2 separate regions of the Homo sapiens genome follow, and region 2 is linked to region 1. Evidence: promoter capture Hi-C in 16 types of primary human blood cells and fetal thymus (Javierre and others, 2016). All regions are on one chromosome and are shown on one strand. The core of a region is centred on a gene start or on the middle of the fragment in contact, and the rest is flanking DNA. Distances in the headings are between cores, read along the strand shown. Region 1 holds the start of WDR25 (WD repeat domain 25). Region 2 overlaps LINC02320 (long intergenic non-protein coding RNA 2320).

Evidence for each region. The method cuts DNA at HindIII sites, captures the fragments that hold promoters and counts their contacts. A CHiCAGO score of 5 or more calls a contact.
Region 2: a contact is called between a fragment that was not itself captured here and the fragment with the promoter of WDR25 in region 1, in 8 of 17 cell types (endothelial precursors, M0 macrophages, naive CD8 T cells and 5 more). The highest score is 9.4, in endothelial precursors.

What each region holds. Positions count from the first base shown.
Region 1 is chr14:100,375,109-100,378,054 of GRCh38, forward strand. WDR25 (WD repeat domain 25) reads left to right here and starts at 1,377. Exons shown (of 7, transcript NM_001161476.3): 1 at 1,377-1,387. WARS1 (tryptophanyl-tRNA synthetase 1) reads right to left here and starts at 239. Exons shown (of 11, transcript NM_004184.4): 1 at 175-239. RefSeq lists enhancers at 191-330, 341-700 and silencers at 1,211-1,270, 1,461-1,510. The HindIII fragment of the contact is 16,259 bases long and covers 1-2,946 here.
Region 2 is chr14:101,655,609-101,658,554 of GRCh38, forward strand. The region is part of intron 1 of LINC02320 (long intergenic non-protein coding RNA 2320); the gene reads right to left. Among named protein-coding and RNA genes, the nearest start is that of LINC00239, 73 kb to the right of the region's middle. The HindIII fragment of the contact is 3,632 bases long and covers 1-2,946 here.

The sequences.
Region 1 (2,946 bases), core at 127-2,626:
GATCTCTGTTCCCTATGGGAGCAGTGAATCACCTGAACTTTGGGTCAATGGAAGAAGTAAAATGCATAACACCCTAATCCTAAGACACAAGTCCTGACCCCCTAAACCAAGGTTTTCAGCACTTTGCTAAAAACACGAACAAGCTCTAAGCCTGGCAAAGATGGCAATACATACCCAGGTTGTGGAAGACACTGCAGAGGTGGCCACTGGTCACGCTGGGCAGTTGAGCTGCTGAGAGTGCCCTGCCCAGCCAGAAATGGTCTTTAATACTCTTCCCCTCTTTCTTTCAGTTTCCCTTCTGAAAAAAGATGCTTTTGTCTTTCGTTCTCCCCACCCTGCATTCAGCTAAGGGTTTCTTATAAATCACCCAGATTCTCAGAAACACTTGAGCTCTTGACCAACCTTCTTGATGAGACTGTCCAATCAGGGGTGGGTTGCCTGGGGGGCCAGGTTGAGACCAATGAAACCCTCTTGAGAATCGAGCCATTAGCTGGTCATTGCATCAGCCACCCCTCACCCCCCGCTGGCCTCCAAATAACCTCCCCACCCTCTTCCCGTTCCCCACCCTCAGCGTCAGTGTGACTGATTTTGTGTAGTCGTGGGCGGTGGAAAGAGAAACTGTAAATTCCCCGCATCTGTTCACCGAGGCGGCACAGTGCAGTGGAAAGATCAGGAGTTCTGGGGTCACAGACGCCTGGGTTTCAATCCCAGCTTGGACTTATTCGAAACCTTGGGCAAGGGTCGCATTACTTTTCTGCTTCCCCTTCGGTTTCCTCATCTGTGGAATGGGCATGGAGAAGCCTGCTAACATTACCGTTGAGGGGACTAAGTGCAACACTACGCAAAGCCTCTGGCACATGGCAGGCGCTAAATAAAAATGGGGGCCTCTCTCCTCGGGAAAAGCGAACAGGCGGAGACGATGAAGGGTGCCAGTGGGAAAGGGAGACGGGGTGGGTCGGCGGCGCTCAGAGGAAAGGGGCGAGGGGTCGGTGGCAGGCTCCGCGCCTCACAGTGCCAGAACGCGGCGGGCAGCAAGCCGGGCTCTAAGGATACTCCCGGGAGGGCCAGGCCACTGGGCGCCGCGCCAGCGTCCCTCCATCACTCCCTCCCTTGTTTCCTCACTCCGCCCCGGCCTTACTCCCCTCGCTTACCCTGCCCAGCCGGGCCAGTCAGCGCTCCCGGCTCAGCAACCGGCTGTCTCCTGGGCGTCCGTGGAAACGCCGTCCGGACGGAACAACTTCCGGCCCGACGGCGCCGTCATTGGCTGTTCGCGCGGGGGCGGGGCAGAGGCCGCCACTGATTGGCTGGCGGCCGCGGCGTCGCGTCGGAACGTGACTGGATGGTAGTGTGCTGGCCGGTCTGCCTCCGGGAGAACCGAGCGCTTCCGGTGCGTGTGGTGAGCGGCGGGCCCCGGGCTGGAGGGGCCGGGACTGGGCAGCGCCTAAAGCGCCCCGTGCCGCTTAACGCGGTCTCTCATAGCCGCTCGCCTTCCTTTCACTTCCTGTTCCTTCAGAAAGCGCTGTGCCTTGGACCAACCTTACTTCTTACTATTGACAGCTCAGCTAACTCCTATTCATCCTTCAAAACCCATCTCTGGTCGTATCTTGTTTGTTGCTTTCATCGCTCTGGGGCCTCCGGGGGGATCTGTGTTTTGTGTTTGATTTCCACCCACACCAGACCCAGCATAGGGCTTGACAAAGAGTACGTAATCAGGAAATGTTTGTTGAATGGGAATATCCTATTTCTTTTACTTCCTAGCATCTCCCCCTCCCACCCGTTTGCATTCCAGAAATATTTTTAGACGCTGGGCATTGAATAGTGAACAAAACACAGAAAGTCCTGTCCTCATGGGGCTGACTTGCTGATAGTGACTGTCAGAGTCACTCGCTCCTTCCTTAGACTCTTCTCCAGTGTCCCTGCCTTCCCTTCCATCTTACTGTCTGTTCCTCTTCGTTTAATCCCTCATCTCCTTCCAGAGGGAGCACGGGCACCCTGGTGGTGGGAATCTGGGTGCATGGTGGGTGGTGCCTGGGCAGAGGAGTTGAGAGTGGCCTCGGGACCAGGCTTAGCATTTAGAGAACAGAAATGCCAAATTATTTGCAGTGCACGGTTCCATTAGTTTATAATTAGTCTTTCATATTATATTAGTTCCATTGGAGATGAGCTGGCTGGCTGGCTTTAGAAGTTGTTGTTGTTGTTGTTGTTTTTTGAGACCAAGTCTCGCTCTGTAGCCCAGGCTGGAGTGCAGTGGCGTGATCTCCACTCACCGCAACCTCCGCCTCCCGGGTTCAAGCAATTCTGCGGCCTCAGCCTCCAGAGTAGCTGGGATTACAGGCGCGCACCACTGCACACGGCTAAATTTTTTTTTTTTTTGTATTTTTAGTAGAGACGGGGTTTCACCATGTTGGCCAGGCTGGTCTTGAACCCCCGACCTCAGGTAATCCGCCCTTCTCGGCCTCCTACAGTGCTAGGATTACAGGCGTGAGCCACCGCGCCCGGTCGTTTTATTTAAACTCTGGCTTTGCGTGTGGAAGTTGTTACCTGCCTGGAATGGGCTGCGAACGGGGGCGGCATTACTAGAGGAGGCTGACTACAGACATTTATGGAATGATGACCTGACTTGTAGACCAGTGGAACCCTCAGGCGAATGATGCCACTTGGGGGAAAGGTGTGGAAGAGGTTGGGTGGTTGATTCCAGGGGACATAGAAACCCATTGTCTAGAAGAAGAGATGGGTAATAGGCTGTCTGGAATGACTTAGAAAAGGACTTGGAGGGAATCTGTTGATGCTGACCTGACTCCACCTGTTGGGGGATGGAGGCGGAGCTTGGCGTGTTTGATTAAGGTTGGGTGCACTGGGTTTTCTTGGAAGTCGGTCTATTGCCTGAGCGTTCTGTGCTGTTCCACCGCGCCCTCTGCTGTCCTAGGAGTGCCTAGCACCCTTCTT
Region 2 (2,946 bases), core at 121-2,620, 1.3 Mb after region 1:
GGCAGCTAGATTAAACAACAGATTTTCAATGTAAATGAAACGGCCTTATATTGGCAGAAGATGCCATCTAGAACTTTCATAGCTACAGAAGAGAAGTCAATGCTGGCTTGAAACATCAAAGGACACGCTGACACTCTTGGCAGGGGCTAATGCAGCTGGTGACTTTGAGTTGAATCCGGTGTTCATTTACCATTCTGCAAATCCTAGGGAATTATGCTAAATCTACTCTGCATGTGTTCTCTAGATGGAACAACAAAACCTGGATGACAGCACGTTTACAGCATGGCTTACTGAATACTTTAAAGCCACTCTTGAGACCCATGCTCAAATTTCTCTCAAAATATTACTGTTCATGACAGTGCCTGTAGTCAACCAACAGCTCTGATGGAGGTGTACAAGGAGATTAATGTTTTTATGCCTGCTAGGACAACGTCCATTCTGCAGCCCATGAGTCAAAGCGTAATTCTGACTTTCAAGTCTTGTTATTTAAGAAACACGTTTCATAACACTATAGCTGCCGTAGGTATGCTTCCCCTGATGGAGCTAGGCAAAGTAAATTGAAAACTTTCTGGAAAGAATTCACAATTCTAGATGCCATTAAGAACATTTGTGATTCATGGGAAGAGGTCAAAATAGCAGCATTAACAGGAGTTTGGGCGGGCACAGTGGCTCGTGCTTGTAATCCCAGCATTTTGGGAGGCTGAGGAGGGCGGATGGCTTGAGTCCAGGAGTTTGAGACCAGCCTGGACAACATGGTAAAACCCCATCTCTACTAAAAATGCAAAAATTAGCTGGCTATGGTGCCGTGCACCTGTAGTCCCAGCTACTTTGGGGGCTGAGATGGGAGGATTACCTGAGCCCAGAAGTCGAGGCTGCAGTGAGCCAAGATCACACCACTGACCTCCAGCCTGGGTGACAAAGTGAGACCTTGTCTCAAAATAAAACAAGAGTTTGGAAGACGTTGGTCCCGACCCTCATGGATAACTTTGAGGGGTTCGAGACATCAGTAGAGGAAGGAACTGCAGATATGATAGAAATAGCAAGAGAACCAGAATTATAAGTGGAGCCTAAAGATGTGACTGGATTGCTACGATCTCATGAGAAAACTTGAACAGATGAGGAGTTGGTTCTTATGGCTGAGCAAATAAAGTGGTTTCTTGAAATGGAATAACTCCTGGTGAAGATGCTGTGAACACTGTTGAAATGACAACAGAGGATTTAGAATATTCCATAAACCCAGTTGATAAAACAGTGGCAGGCTTTGAGAGGACTGACTCCAATTTTGAAAGTTCTACTGTGGGTAAAATGCTGCCAAATAGCATCACAAGCTACAGAGAAATCTTTCATGAAAGGAAAAGTCCATCAATGTGACAAACTTCATTCTTGTTTCATATTAAGAAATTGGGCCAGGCACAATGGCTCATGCCTGTAATCCTAACACTTTGGGAGGCCAAGTGGGGAATATCACTTGAGGCCAGGAGTTCCAGACCAGCCTGGACAATAAAAAGAGACCTTGACTCTACAAAAAAATTAAAGAAATCAGCCAGACACAGTGGCACATGCCTGTAGTCCCAGTTACTCAGGAGGCTAAGGTGGGAGGATCCCTTGAACCCAGGAGTTTGAGGTTGCAGTGAACTATGATTGTGCCACTGCATGCTAGCCTGGGTAAAGAGTGAGACCCTATCTCAAAAAAAAAGAAAGAAAGAAATTGCCACAACCACTGCCAGTAACCACCACCCTGATCAGTCAACAGCCATCAACATCAAGGTAAGATCCTCCACCAGCAAAAAGACTATGACTTGCTGAAGGCTCAGATGATAGTTAGCATTTTTAGCAATGAAGTATTTTGAATTAAGATATGTACATTGCTTTTTAGATATCATGCTATTGCACACTTGAAAGCTACAGAATAGGGTAAACATACTTTTATTTGTTCAGGGAAACCAAAAAAATCATGTGACTCACTTTATTGCAATATCCATTTTATTGTGGTGATCTGGAACCAAACCCACAATACCTCAGAGGTATGCCTGTATTGATATGACTTGAATCATTTTAAATATGTTGAGATTTGTTTTATAGCTCACAATATAGTCAAATATGGTAAACATTCTGTATTTTTAAAAAAGTGTGTCCTCCTGTTGTTGAGTAGAGTGTCCTATAAATGTCAATTAGTTCAAGTTATCAATAGCATTGTTCAAGTTTTCATATTCATACTGACTTTCTATCTAATTGCTCTCAAAAATTATTGAAAAAGAGGTATTGAAATCTCTGATTTTCACTGTGTCTATTTCTCCTTCTGGTTCTATCAGATTTTCTTCATGCATTTTAGAGCTCTTTTGTTAGGTGCATTAACATTTAGAATTGTTTTTGTTCTCTTGGTGAATTGAAATCTTTATCATTATGAAATTGGCTTCCTAGCCATTTGTGGTGGCCCACACCTGTAATCCTAGCACTTTGGGAGGCTGGGGTGGGTGGAACACTTTGAGCTCAGGAGTTCAAGGTCAGCCTGGACAACATGGAGAAACCCTGTCTCTACAAAAAATACAAAAATGAGCCAGGCATGGTGGCTTATGCCTGTGGTCCCAGCTACTCAGGAGGCTAAGGTTGGAGGATCACTTGGCTCGGGAAGCGGAGGTTGCAGTGAGCCGAGATGGCAACACTGCACTCCAGCCTGGGTGACAGAGCGAGACCCTGTCTCAAAAAAAAAAAAAAAAAAAGAAAGAAAAGAAAAGAGGAGAGAGAGAGAGAGAGAAAGAAATTAGTGTCCTTATCCTTGGTAAAAATCTTCTGCCTTAAATCTTTTTTTATATTAATCCAGTTATTCCAGGCTTATTTTGAATAGTGTTAGCATGGCATACTGCTTTTCATTCTCTTACTTTTCATCTATTTCTGTATTTAAAGTGCATTTTGAGCCAGGTGTGGTAGTGCACGCCTGTAGTCCCA